Linked DNA regions of Homo sapiens: regions 1, 2 and 3 are each linked to region 4. The links are contacts of gene promoters, found by promoter capture Hi-C in blood cells and fetal thymus (Javierre and others, 2016). All regions are on one chromosome and are shown on one strand. The core of a region is centred on a gene start or on the middle of the fragment in contact, and the rest is flanking DNA. Distances in the headings are between cores, read along the strand shown. Region 1 holds the start of CCT2 (chaperonin containing TCP1 subunit 2). Region 2 overlaps RAB3IP (RAB3A interacting protein). Region 3 holds the start of CNOT2 (CCR4-NOT transcription complex subunit 2). Region 4 holds the start of MIRLET7IHG (MIRLET7I host gene).

Region 1 (3,557 bases), core at 956-3,455, 7.0 Mb before region 4:
TAACAAACAGTATTATTAGGTTGGTGAAAAAGTATATTCAGACTTACCAACTAAAACTTTAGCTGCTGGATTGTCAACACCAATGTTTTTTAGAATAGTGGCACCATCATTGGTTACCATAAGAGAGGCATCTCGTCCACTGCTTAGAAGAATTTTGTCCTAAAGGGAACATAATTGGTTCAAGTTAAGACATAAGCACATCTTGAAGAATGCATGGATCAATCAGTATTCTCACACAGTGCTAGTGTATAAACACTCTGGATAGCTATTTTGTGGTATCCATTCATCAAATGTTTTCAATACATACACCACGTAACCAAACCATGTATCTACCCCTAGAAACACTAGAAGCACAGGTAGACACTAGTTTTTGTTTCAACACCGTAACTGCAAAAACAATGGAAAGAAACTATCAATACAGCCATAATTAAATTATAAAATAATTAAGGTACAGGATAATATTTGACAGTTAAAGGGGCAGTGTTATCTACTTACACTGAAAGGAATTTAAAAGAGCAAGCTACAAAAAAGTATTGATAAATAGTATCTGTTTTATAAAACAGTATGTTACATGAGTATAAAATACATAATGAAGTACACATACTTCTACATAAACAGAATATTAGAAGATGTACGTGCAAATGATAACAGTACTTGTCATTGGGGAGGGGCATGGGATTGGGGATGGTGATTCTGGGGACTCTGATTTTTACTAAGGAGAACATACTTGTCTTTTATAATTAAACGTTTTAAAGATTAAAAAGCATTTTAATACGCTTGTTATTATATTTCCACCAAGCGCTCTAAAACAATATTAAAATATAAAACTTTTCTATTTTTCTTACCATGCCTTTGGGTCCCAAGGTGCTCTTTACCAAGTCTCCAATGGCGATGGCACCAATAAAAGAAGTCTGGAGTAAAAACCAAGGAGATTATCAGAATCAACTTTACAGTCTTCAAGTACAGTTTTATCTTTATTTACTTTTTTTTTTTTTTGAGGCAGAGTGTCGCTCTGTCGCCCAGGCTGGAGTGCAATGGCGCGATCTCAGCTCACTGCAACCTCCGCCTCCTGGGTTCAAGCGATCCTCCTGCCTCAGCCTCCCGAGTAGCTGGGATTACAGGTGCCCATCACCACGCCCGGCTAATTTTTGTATTTCTAGTAGAAACGGGGTTTTACCATGTTGGCCAGGCTGGTCTCGAACTCCTGACCTCAGTTCATCCGCCTACCTCGGCCTCCCAAAGTACTGGGATTACAGGAGTAAGCCACCGCGCCTGGCCTCCAGTTTTATCTTTAAAACAATGCTTAGAACAAGGCTTACCAGACGAGCTGTCTCTGCTCTCTCTTCATCAGCTCCTGCCTTAAAGATGTTAACAGGTGCAAGGGAAAGGGACGCCTGAAAAGGAAAACCAAGAGGCATTCCGTTTAAGTACCAATACTCTAACACATACACTGAGGTGCCTTCCACTAGTCTTACAAGTGGACATCTAAGAGAAAACTCATTTACAACAATGTTTTCAATCAAATGAAGCTTCCATCATCGGAGAAAGCATTTAAGTGGGAGAGAGGGACTTGTAGGAGAGCGACATGGCTTTTCGGATTTACAAGGCCCCCGGGAGTATAAATTATACACCAGCGAGATTGACAGTTACGTACAGCGAGACTAAAGACGATCTTGAACTAAGAATGAGGCAGGGAGGGGTTGCAGGCCATCAAGGTGACGCCTGCCGGGCGGGCGAGGGAACGCGGCCTCCATCTTCCACCCTCGGAAGGCTGCGGCCCCTCCACCCTCTGATGGCTCAGACCCCGTCGCTCCAGGCTCCGCCCCTAGAAGGAGGGCGGAGCGGGTCCCACACTAGAAATTTCTTCGCTCCGGGTGAGGCGCGGACCTGGGCTGCCGGGACTATGCAAAGACCTAGGCACAAGGAGACGCTGGCTTTGCGGTCCACCCCTCCCCCTCGTGGTGAGCTCCACCGGCTGGCCTGGCGCAGGCCGCACGCCCCGCGCATGGCTCGCACCATGTGCGGAGGGCCGGGGAGACAGAAACGGAGCCTACGACCCTAGCAGGACAGAGGAAGCAGTGGGGTGGCAAGAGCACGGCGGAGCAGGGGTAGGGCAAGAGGCAGGGGAGTCAGGCTCACCATGGTTCCGAGGAGTTCCGCACACAAGTGAATCCCCTCACAGCTCGTGCTCGGGACCAGCGGACTGAAGGAAGCCGGAAGTGACGCCACACGCCCTACTTCGGGGGGCGGGGCCCCGGCCTGTCGTTACCGCCAGCAGGCGTCCCATTTTGATTGGAGCCCCACGGGCCGGAAACGCAGCCTTTCACACTGGAGGGGGCGTGGCCGCCGCTCCAGAACAAAGAGGCGGCTGCCGCGCGGGTTGCCATAGAAATGGAGTTCTTGCTCACACTTTTTATTTTCTTAAATTTAATCTTTAAACACTTCTATTAAAGTCACACATGTACACAGTTTAAAGTGTTATATACCAATAAGGAAAAACATAATTTATCTGCCTCACCACTTCCTGTCTCCAGGAAAACTGCTTTCAACTTTTTCAGTTTTTTGGAGGGGCTATTTACTATCATATTCCCAGATAATATTATTGCTATGTTAATTTTAAACATTATTTACTGAGTATTACAGAAGAAGACTTCCTTTTCTCTTACTGAATTTTCAGACGTTATTTCTAACTGGACGTTGACTGCCCAGGATAAGGTCTTGTGAACTGAGAGAGACATTTATAGTATTTTATCTTTGCCCTATTTACTCATTTTCAGGAATTTTTGCATTTCGGTCTTTTTTTTTTTTTTCCTCCAATAGTAGAGACGACTTATTAGTCTTTGTTTATAATAAACTGAAATATTTGGGACTGATCTTGATGTCTGCCAAAACCTTGGCAGACATCAAGATCAGTCCCAAATATTTCAGTTTATTATAGACAGTTTTCTACTTTCTCTAAGTTGACGGATGTCTAAAAATTTGTTCTCTAAAAAATTTTTCTGTCATCTACTGATACCCTCTTTTCTCCCTTTGACTAACTGATCGCTTAAGCTCCTCGGCAGGGCGCGGTGGCTCACCCCTGTAATCCCAGCACTTTGGGAGGCCGAGGTGGGCGGATCACCTGAGGTCAGGAGTTGGAGACCAGCCTGGCCAACATGGTGAAACCCTGTCTCTACTGAAAATACAAAAATTAGCCGGGCGTGGTGTGCATGCCCGTAATCCCAGCTACTCAGGAGGCTGAGGCAGGATAATTGCTTGAACCCGGGAGGCAGAGGTTTCAGTGAGCCGAGATCACGCCGCTGCACTCCAGCCTGGGCAACAGAGCGAGACTCTGTCTCAAAACAAAAACAAAACAAAACAAGCTCCTGGATTTTTCTTTTTCTGTTTTGTTTTTTTTAGAGATGGGGTCTTCTATGTTGCCCAGGCTGGCCTGGAACTCCTGGGCTCAAGCAATCTTCCTGCCTTGGTCTCCTGAGTAGCTGGGGTCTCCTGGATTTTTGACATTGCTAACATTAACAGGAATTTTCAATTTTTTAGTTGTTTCTACCCTTCAGATT
Region 2 (3,587 bases), core at 221-2,720, 7.1 Mb before region 4:
TTATCTTTTAAGAAGCATTCTATGTTTATAAATGCAAATGTAATTAATAGCCCAAGGGCAAAATTACTCAAATGGTCAATCAGGCTACACAATTTTCCCATTTTTATTATAATAGATCACAAATGAATTCCCACTAATTCCACAATACTTTTTTTTTTTTTTTTTTGAGATGCAGTCTCGCTCTGTCGCCCAGGCTGGAGTGCAGTGGCACAATCTCGGCTCACTGCAACATCTGTCTCCTGAATAGCTGGGATTACAGGCGCCTGCCACCACACCCAGCTAATTTTTTGTATTTTTAGTAGAGATGGGGTTTTGCCATGTTGACCAGGCTTGTCTCGAACTCCTGACCTCAAGTAACTGTCTGCCTCAACCTCCCAAGTGCTGGGACTACAGGTGTGAGCCACCATGCCCGGCCTAATTCCACAACACTTCAATGTACAACCTGACATGTGTAGAGATGTTAGTTATTGCAGTGTGTTATGTTGACAGTTTTCAGAAAATGTTCTGAACTTATGAGCTAATATTATATTTAATTACAAATAATTATTTGTAATAATACAATGAGCTAATATTTAATTACAAATATTTATTTGTAATTAAATATTTATTTAAATTAACAGAACACCGCATGTTCTCACTCATAAGTGGGAGATGAACAATGAGAACACACGGACACAGGGAGGGGAATATCACACACCAGGGCCTGTGGGGGAGTGGCGGGCTAGGGGAGGGATAGCATTAGGAGAAATACCTAAGGTAGATGATGGGTTGACCGGTGCAGCAAACCACCATGGCACGTGTATACCTATGTAACAAACCTGCACATTCTGCACATGTATCCCAGAACTTAAAAGTATAATTTTTTAAAAAAATCATTTTCCAAATTTCTTTTTCTCAATAATGGAAGCTTCATTTTACATATTCTCTTAAGAATATATGCCAACTAAACATTCAACAGGTGCTGAAATACGCACTGACTAAATAAATAAACAAGAGTCTTTAGAGAAGGAATGAATAGCAAAGCGGTAAAGAGTGGAGACAGTTATTCAGGCTACATTTTTGCTGAAAAAGATAGAAATGAAACAGTAAATACTTTGCGAGAGTATCAAAACTGGAGAAATTGAAGTTTGAGAAAACCTGAGCATTTTAACAGACTAACTTCAGAAAACCTTCCTTCTAGTTCAGATTCTGTCACTGACAAGCTGTGTGAACTGACGCAAGTCATTTAATCTCTCTAAGGTTCAGTTTTGACATCTATAATGGTAGTGATATTATCTCCCCTGCCTACATTTGAGAAAATCAAATGGCATATCAATGTAAAAATGTATACATTGTAAAGCACAACATAAATGTATGATTTTATAAAGATCTAAGAAAGAAAAAAATGTAATGGGGGAAATAGCAAAAGCATACTGAGGGGTTTGTCTTACAAATCAGAAGGTATCTTTATTTATCTTAGGTAAAAGGAAAGAAAGGGAAAACTAGTCTTTATGAGGCATGTAGTTCAAATATGATTCTTTTCCCCACAGGGAATTGATACAAATTTGCTTATTGTTTTTTCAAACTTATTTTGGTTTTTCTTTTATACTTTATCCTTATCTGACAACCAGATGCTCCCAAACAAATATTCAATACTATTACTTTTATCTGGGCATATCAAATTACAATTCACTTATTTAAGTGGTTCTAAGCTATCATCTATATGCTCCTTTATGCTCATAGGGCATTCTCACATTCTTGAATAGTTTCTTCATACTAAGCTGTCAATTCATATACTTATTTGTGTATGTATCCATACCCCTCAGAGGAATTTCATCAACTGCCATTATGATTATATTTACAATCCTACTGTTAACGACAAGCATCAAATCTTTCATGAACTTGAACTATTTGAATAATTTTCATTCTTTTTCCTCTAAGTAATATCAGTTTACGGCTATAGTTATCTAATTTCGTGTTGCCCTATATTCTAAGATAAATCAGATTACTTTTTCCACTTTTCTCTAACCATGACTATGTACGATGTAAGCTTATAAAACTACCTCATTTAGTGGTAAGTTGAAAAGGAAAGCAGAAGGGAAAATAGAGATAGCAAGTTAATGCTCCCAGTTGTATAAATATCTTCCTCTTCCTTCCTTTGTCCCTTCATTTCTCAATGTTCATTTCAATTTCTACTGCTAGAGCAGCTTCAAAACATCCTAACATTCTTCAACTGATCATCCATCACCAAACACAGCACAGTACTTACCTGGCCCGATGTTAAAGCTATAAAATGAGGTAAGCCCTACTCTCGAAGCACTTGTAGACTAGAGGAAGAGACCACCTTGCCAATAAACATGTTTCTAGGGCCCTAGAAACAATTACAAATACAACACAAATATCAAAGTTCATAAATACCAAAAAAGAGGTACTCAGTATTATAAAAGCATAAAATTTTTAAAAAGAGTACCATCTGGTACAACTAAGGATAGTAGCATAAAAAAGGAGAAACAAGCTAGAAAGCAGTTTACAAAAGCTCAGATATTTTGTTTTTAGGATATCAAATGCGTAGTAACCAATTTACTATCCTTTGATGAACTGCATCTTAATCAGAATTATATCGGAAAAAAGTTTAGTGTGAAAAAGCGTACTCCCTTGGAATATCTTCAAAGCTTTCCCTCATTACCTCAATGCACAAATATCTCTACCCACTATCCATCTGTCCTTCCTCTCCACTACTCAACTATCCTAGCACTTTGTCTTAGTTGACATTCATTAAAATATGTAAAGTGCGTTCTACATTTTGAAGAACTTATAAAAGATATGGGAATGATTATAAGGCCCTACCTTCCATATTCCTTAAGAACAGTTTCCTTTAACCCCTACTGTGACTTGCAGAGTAGATGCTCAATGAGTATTTGATTTAAAAAAATCTCTGGTGACACAATGAGAATTACATATTACATTAACATTACGTATCTCATAAAAGCTAAATTACAAAGTTCTTCAGCATTATAAGCTACACATAAAGAAGTGATAATGTAGTGATTATGAGCAAACAATTCTTTAGCATTACCACTTATACATGAAGAAATGACAGAGTGTAGTGGTTAAGAGCACAGACATGGAAGACAAACTGTCTGACATCTAATCTAGACCTGTCACTTAATTAACTATGTGACGTTGAGCAAACTACATAAGGTCTCAGGGTCTCAATTTTCTCAACTACAAAATAGGGATAAAGTATTATCTCCTCGCTCACTCTGAGAGTAAATGAGTATAAAGCTTACACCAGGACTTCGCTTGATAAGCACTAGACTTAAAAGTAACTGTAGTAGCAATGCTGGTATCACCGTCTTCAGAAAACTTGGATATTTTTAAACCAGAAATACAAATGGTAACACTTGTCATCTGTGTGCCTCCTTATAGTTACAAAGCTCTTTAATAGAAGGTGCAGACCAGGAATGTAAGAAACAAAAGCACTACGTTCCATTTTGGGCAGTCGGATACAGTTTTTAATACCGGCTCTGTCACTGGCCAGCTGTACGACCACCTACAACTAAGTAACCATAGACAAATTATCGCAACTTTCTAAGCCTCCATTTCCT
Region 3 (3,247 bases), core at 587-3,086, 7.6 Mb before region 4:
TTAAGTGTATTTTGTATTTTTTTCTTTAGATTTAACATTATAATAGAACTACAAACTAAACAAATTCAACATACAGAGCTTACTAATTATCTTGGTCCATTATAAAACATTTCAATGAACTGGGATGTGAATATAGACACTTAACCATTTCAGCCAACTATGATTCTTAACCCTTTCAATCTGCAATAGTTACCTTACAAAATTGTGAGATTTATTCATTGACGTTTGGAAAGAACTGTTGTCAATTATGCCAAGCATTCCCAAACTCAACATCAACCTTGCATGTAAATGGATACTTTAAAATTTCTATCTCATCCCTCACCCCATACTTTATTCTTTCCATTTATATTGCTTCAAAAGGGAAATCAACAGTCACACTTATGATTCCGAGCTCTAAAAATTCCTAATATTAAGCATGACACTAAATATGTTCAACTTTGAACCTTAAATTCAAGTTGGCCTCCCTCGTGAACTGATTTTAACTGAGTACTTTTTACCATTTCGCCAAGAACTAAGGGTTCAAAGCAGTGTACTTAATTATGAGGAATTGCCCAAACGATTTTAAAAGGAGTGGGATTCTCTGACCAAGACTTTTATGAAAATGAAACAAAATATGTTGCACTCAGTCTTCCGGATGTTGAAAAGTGAAGATGTCTCCAAGGATTCGAAGGAAGTTGATGTTTAGGTTCCCTCTGAGAGGGTGGTACCCTTAATGTAAGACTTTTGTGGTAGTAATACCGTACCTACAGGCCTGGAATAAATATAAGGTCTAAAACCTTGGAAATACTTTGTATAAAAGAAAACTCCAATTCTCTTTTGCTAAGGACCACAGTTACCAAGAGTTATCAGCTTTCACCCGGACAGACAACAGTGCTTCAATGAAGAACTACAAAGGCCTCTTTTAACCCTACTCTTTTCTTCTGTTAAACTTTTAAGCGAGACCTACGACAGCAAAAGGTGGAGAGGCCCCTGCGGAAGTAGAAACCCAGGACTTGCAACTTCACAGACAGAAGCGTCTGTGGTTCCTCCGCCGCCCCAGGATCATCCGGACTCAGTCTACGACACTACGGAAGCTTCACCTTCCTGGTGCGGTGGCAGAGGCGGCATCGCAGTTGCATTCCTTCTCCCTCCACCATGCACAGCCTTCGGTATCCCAGGGCCTGCAGGATCCTGACACCCGTTAGCCAGTCCAGTGTCTCCCATCTGACACTTGCAAACACACTAACAGAAATACACATAACTGGCAGATGATATACGTGTATTGAGAGAAGGTAAGAAGCCACAGACAGCACCAGCTGCCGGGAAGGCGGCAGAGCCGTCTAAAGCGGGCTCGAGCTCGTCGGCCACGGCCACGGCCGCTGCCGCCTTCTCTTCTCCCCCAGGAAGCAGCGCGGCGGCAGCGGCTCCTCCGCGCTGGCGGGAGCCTAGGGGAGTGGAGTCTGGGGAAGCCCCACCACTCGCGGATGGGACCGGGCCTAGGATCTGGAGCTGCTGCTGCTGCAGCGGCCCGAGTACAGCGACGCTTTACGTCCGGTCCACCACCACCCCCATACACACCCCCTCCCTCCCTCCACCGCCGCCACCCCCCTCCCCGCCCGCTCCGCTCTCCGTCTCTCGATTGGAGCCGAGACAAAAGCAACGGGAAGCGGTGGGCCGGGACGCTACCGGCGGACCCTGGGCGCGACCGGACCGGCCCCGGGGCATTCCCCCGCCTTGCGGGGGCCCCGAATCTGCCGCCCCCGCCGCGCGCCCCGCTGCCAGACTTCCGAAAATTTACCAAAAACTCACCGCATGAATTTTCTTGTCCCGCGGATCCAAGATGGCGACGTATCCACCGCGGAGGCTGCTGGGAGCAAGACCTTTACCCTCTGACCGCCGCCGTGACCCCCGTCGCTCCGGCTTCCCTCCAGGCGGCAGCGGAAGGTGGGAGCGACGACTGCAAAACGGCAGCGATGGGGTGGGTAGGCAGGCCGCTTTCAGCGCGCTTCTAACAAGGTGGAGAGAGGCGCTTCACTTCCCTACCGCCCTTACCGCCGCTCCGTCTTGTCTCCCACCGACTCACAGGGAGGCTTGCTGCTCCTCCGCGGCCGTTACAGAGAGCGGGGCTTCTGCGGCCGCTACCGTTTCCCTGGGGCTAGGTTGCTTCGCAGAAGGCTCTGGCCCTGAGTCCGAGGGGGACTGCGGGGTCCAGGGGCGATGAATGGTGAGGTGGCTTCAGTCCGCCCTCCCCGGGGACGCTGAGCGTGTTCGTGTTCGTGTTTGTGTTTGTGTTTGTGTTGGACACCCCCGCCCCCGCACGTCCGCCTCGTCACTCCTCCCCTCCTCACTCCCGCCACCTGGAGCGAATCTGATCGTGTCCCTGTTTCCTCCCTCAGCTCCCGCAACCTCCGGAGCTTGTGCGCGTACTTCAGGGACCGGCACCACGTCACCGTCACCTCCTGAGTAGTGAGTTCCCCTCTGATGAAACCACTGGTGTGTTTACTCACCATCCCCACCATTTTTTTTTCCCCAACCTGATGGAAGGAAGTACATAATGGAGAGCAAGTTTTTAAAGCACGGTCGTGTCGTGTGAACTTGCTCTAGCCAAATTAGGTTTATAGCACTTTTTTTGGCTCTCATTACCTCCAGTCCCCACATAAACAAGAGTGACCAGCTGGGTCATCCGCAAGACCGTTTGAAATTATTGTGGCTTGGGTGGAAACTTAAAGGAGTGAAGTATCTGCTTTCCAGAAAAATCGTTGTCATTCAAAGTGAAATTAAACTTGTTTTCTTTGCAATAATTCGCCTTTATTTCCTTGTATATCTGTAAACTCTTCACTTTTTTGTAATTACTAGACAATTCGGACTTAAAAAGAGCCTCAGCATGTGTATTTTGGAATTGTGTAGCTTCATAATGTGAAAATTATTCTTTTCTATTTGAGTAAAGTACAGTTAATTTGAAGTAAATAAAATTTCTATTTCCATTGGTTGTTTCTTTTAAAAAGTCACCTTTTACTTACAAAAGAATCACTGTAATCCAGTTTACATTTATCATTGAAGGTCAAAAGCAAGAAATAGGAAGAAACACAAGCATACTATAAAATAAAAGGTAACTGTCATGTTTTTGAAGGTAAGGTGTTTTGACATATCAGCAGACATTGTGTGAATTTATTTCAACTCCTAGTGGTACTGGTGTAGGTAGAAAATGTTTTGCTTGGTTATTCATTTCATCAAACACTCTACTTCACTGTTTTTTTTTCACTTCAGG
Region 4 (3,242 bases), core at 204-2,703:
AACTTTAATTATCAGGTCTACTTCTTCTGCCCCTCTAATGCCAGTTCTGCAGATCGCTCACACCACTCCAACCTACAGCTAAAGAATGAAGTAAAACAGGTACACACTAAATTTGGCATTTAACTGCTGAAAGAAGTGTTAGAATTTTTTAGGGTGAAAAAGTTATCTGTATCAATTATCTTACACAATTCCACTCCTTCCTTCAAGAAAAGGAATCCAATGGCTTAGCTCTTTCCCAACCTTTAAAATGCATCGCGGTCCACCCCACTCCCCTCAATTCCTTCTAGGAAAATGTGAAACTAACGGTTTCCGTGGTGGCCGCGCCGGCCGGGCGCCGAGGCTTCGCGGGCTGTCCCCAGGCAGCGCCCCGGAAAACAAAGGGGATTCCCAGCCATTGTCCTCCGCGGCGCTGAGCATCACCAGCACTAGCAAGGCAGTAGCTTGCGCAGTTATCTCCACAGCGGGCAATGTCACAACCCGACCAACAGCACAAACTACTACCTCAGCCAGGGCCATGGTGTCGGGGAGGCACGGGACCACGCGGAGGGCAGCAAAGCGGCTCCGGCGCTCCTCCGTCCTTCCTCGCCGCCGACGTCGGCCCGCCGCCCCTTCTTTTCCTTTGCCTTCCCCCCGCGCCGCGCCCGGAGACCCCGCCCAGCACCCAGCGGCTCGGCTACTCCCGGCGCGCCCCGAGAGCTACGGGGATGAGAGGCGGCGCCGGCGCCCGGGTGATACAGCCGGCGTTCTGTACGTCAGCCACCGCTCTGAAGAGAGAAAAGCGGCGGTGTCCTGCGGAGAGAGCCGCTCCCTCCACTGCCCGAGGGGAGCGCGTCGCCTCAGCCGCTCGAAAGCAGGAAATGGGCGGCAAAAGCGCAGTCAGACACCAACTGGTTCTGGACTGCCCCCGAGAGGCAGCGAGCAGCGCTCCCGCGCTTCGCCCGCTAGGAGCTGCCGCCACGTCCCGAGCTGCGCCGCTCGCGCCCCTCCCTGCTCCGAGTCCCCGGTGGGGGCTGGGCTGCGGCCGAGTCCGGTACCCGGGCCCCCACCCGCGCCGCGCTGTCGAACCCGCCGCCGGCCCGCTCTCGGCGCCGATAATCGCCGGCGGGCATCCCGCAGAGGCTGCCGCCGGCTCCGCCAAACAGCAGCCAAGGCATAGCCGGGAAGTCCCCAGGCCACCCGTTCCCCAGCACCCTTCGGGGAATTCCCGTTCAGCTCTACAGGAGGCGAAAACGGAACAAACGAAAACCCCTTAACAGTGAAACCGGGCCCGGCGATGGCCCGGGTGGCGACTGCGACGACTCGACGCGTGCGGACACAAGACCCGTCTCGCGCTCCGCTGCTCCTGTGCGTCCGGACGAACCTTAGAGATCACTTAAGGAGGCTCGCGCGCTACTCCTCACCACGTGACCGCCCCGCCAGGCCGCCCCCCGCGCCGCCATCTTACATCCGGGACAGAGGCGGCGTCCCCTTTCCCTGCCTTGGCAGGCGTCAGCGTGCTACCAGAAATCAGCCCTGAAAGAGGGGACCCCGATTCCACGTCACCAGAGTGCTGAGGCAGCGGGCGATGCCCTCCATCGGCTCAGCGGGGGGGAGTGGAGTCCCAAACTTTTTTCGGCCTTTGCCCGCAAAGAAGATGGCGGCGCATATCGCCGCCTAAGCGGACACGTTGTACCCTGGCCGTGGTTTGAAGTTTCCGGCACCTCCTTTCCCAACCAGCAAGGACACAACCATACGAGCCCCACCCACGCGGGGTGGCTGCCGTGCTACATTCCGCAGAAAACAGGCGGGAAAGCTGCGGCACAGCCCGCTTTAAACGCAAGCTTTTGGGACTTCTGGTTTTGGCTTTTTCTTTTTAAGCCAAGTTAGGGAGAAGGCTGACTGCCATGGAGCCACTTCTGCTTTTGGCCCAGACAACTTACGGGATTTTTTTTTTCCTCCCATTTAGAGATTTTTTGTAGGAAGTTAACAAATTATTTTAAAGAAGTAGTTAGGGCTTGTCAGATAAAATACAGGACGCCCAGTTAAATTGGAATTTCAGATAACCAGTGTTTTGGCATATGTGTGTTACATATATTTTTAAAATTGTTTATCTGATATTCCAATTTAACTGCACATTCTCAATTTTTAATGACTGTATCTGGCAACCCTATCAGCCTTTACCCCTGAAAATCCAGACTGCTTATGACAAAAGTAAGGAATGGAGGGAAATGAAAAGCATGTTTACCTACAACTTAGAATTGTCTTTGCCCAGACTTTGATCCTTCATGGAGGCCAGAGGGCCGTGGTCTAGAACAAAATTTGGCAGCAACTCATAAAGATATCCTTGTATAATTCCCTTTCTGGCAAAGTAAGATTTTTTTTTTCTTAAGCTATCACGATGTAATTTTGGACAACAGATCCTCTTGGCCAAGAGTTTAATTGCAAATTAAAAATTAAATAACTGGCTTTTTGTTTCTATTCTACATGGTATAGGCGATGGGACCCAAACAATTTCTTAAAGTAGAAGTTTTCAAGTTAAAAATCAGCCTGCCTGACATATTTCATAAGAACATTTTTAGGTGCATATTCAGAAACTATTTCCAATTAAGAATATTTGTGTAAACATAATACATTTGCAGTTAAATGCTTTACCTGACAAAGCATAAACTCACCTATCAATCACTAAGCATAAACTCAAAGCAAAAACTCAATCACACCATAAACTCATCTATCAATCACTTACCAGAAAGTCTGTAGAAACTTCACACCATCCTTCCTTGATAAGCAAAGATTGGACTGCCATGGGAATCAACCCTCACTGCTCATTGACTGCGCAGTGGATCAGATTATTCTGTACCAAAGCAAATGTCCTTTGCCATAATGGCACAGATTTTTAAATGGCCACTAAACACCTGTTTGGTCTATGGTATACAGATTTGTTACAGCAGTAGTTTCCAACTAAATTTAGTCATTATACTACTTTATCACTTACATTCCTTTCCATAATGTTTTTAACAGTGCTAACACCAATATACTCATCATCCACATATAATGTACTGTTACCATCAACTTTTTCTCCCCCCTCCCTGCATATCAGGAATCTTAAGTATCCTTTCTGAATATGACCACCGTTAATCAATTCTTTATCATCACCTCATAGCAAGAAAATTGCAACAGCTTTCTAGCTTAGCTTTCCATACTGTATATATCCTATCCTGCTTATGATTGCAAGTTTATCTTCCTTGGTTTTATAATTTATTCTT

Evidence for each region. Contacts are between HindIII fragments. The CHiCAGO score rates a contact against its expected background, and 5 or more counts as called.
Region 1: the fragment with the promoter of CCT2 here is called in contact with the fragment with the promoter of MIRLET7IHG in region 4 in 2 of 17 cell types (total B cells and total CD8 T cells); the score reaches 8.3 in total B cells.
Region 2: a fragment that was not itself captured here is called in contact with the fragment with the promoter of MIRLET7IHG in region 4 in 2 of 17 cell types (activated CD4 T cells and non-activated CD4 T cells); the score reaches 9.9 in activated CD4 T cells.
Region 3: the fragment with the promoter of CNOT2 here is called in contact with the fragment with the promoter of MIRLET7IHG in region 4 in 1 of 17 cell types (total CD8 T cells); the score reaches 5.0 in total CD8 T cells.

The regions. Positions count from the first base shown.
Region 1 is chr12:69,584,107-69,587,663 of GRCh38, reverse strand. CCT2 (chaperonin containing TCP1 subunit 2) reads right to left here and starts at 2,205. Exons shown (of 16, transcript NM_006431.3): 1 at 2,140-2,205; 2 at 1,320-1,394; 3 at 846-911; 4 at 48-159. The coding sequence starts at 2,142. MIR3913-1 (microRNA 3913-1) reads left to right here and starts at 2,841; the gene lies at 2,841-2,942. MIR3913-2 (microRNA 3913-2) reads right to left here and starts at 2,941; the gene lies at 2,842-2,941. RefSeq lists an enhancer at 1,835-2,174. The HindIII fragment of the contact is 2,214 bases long and covers 1,532-3,557 here.
Region 2 is chr12:69,741,271-69,744,857 of GRCh38, reverse strand. The region is part of intron 1 of RAB3IP (RAB3A interacting protein); the gene reads right to left. Among named protein-coding and RNA genes, the nearest start is that of RAB3IP, 4.2 kb to the right of the region's middle. The HindIII fragment of the contact is 1,122 bases long and covers 910-2,031 here.
Region 3 is chr12:70,242,022-70,245,268 of GRCh38, reverse strand. CNOT2 (CCR4-NOT transcription complex subunit 2) reads right to left here and starts at 1,836. Exons shown (of 16, transcript NM_014515.7): 1 at 1,789-1,836. It overlaps PRANCR (progenitor renewal associated non-coding RNA), which reads left to right and starts at 1,909. Exons shown (of 5, transcript NR_120460.1): 1 at 1,909-1,957; 2 at 2,376-2,445; 3 at 3,040-3,088. RefSeq lists enhancers at 1,107-1,246, 1,977-2,176, 1,351-2,550 and silencers at 1,547-1,806, 1,878-2,417. The HindIII fragment of the contact is 4,785 bases long and covers 1,076-3,247 here.
Region 4 is chr12:62,600,954-62,604,195 of GRCh38, reverse strand. It overlaps MIRLET7IHG (MIRLET7I host gene), which reads right to left and starts at 1,453. Exons shown (of 2, transcript NR_186001.1): 1 at 1,361-1,453. LINC01465 (long intergenic non-protein coding RNA 1465) reads left to right here and starts at 762. Exons shown (of 1, transcript NR_121682.1): 1 at 762-2,445. It overlaps MIRLET7I (microRNA let-7i), which reads right to left and starts at 510; the gene lies at 427-510. RefSeq lists enhancers at 70-591, 592-1,113, 1,220-1,409, 1,490-1,599, 1,114-1,635 and 1 more and silencers at 440-739, 830-1,139. The HindIII fragment of the contact is 3,704 bases long and covers 1-1,822 here.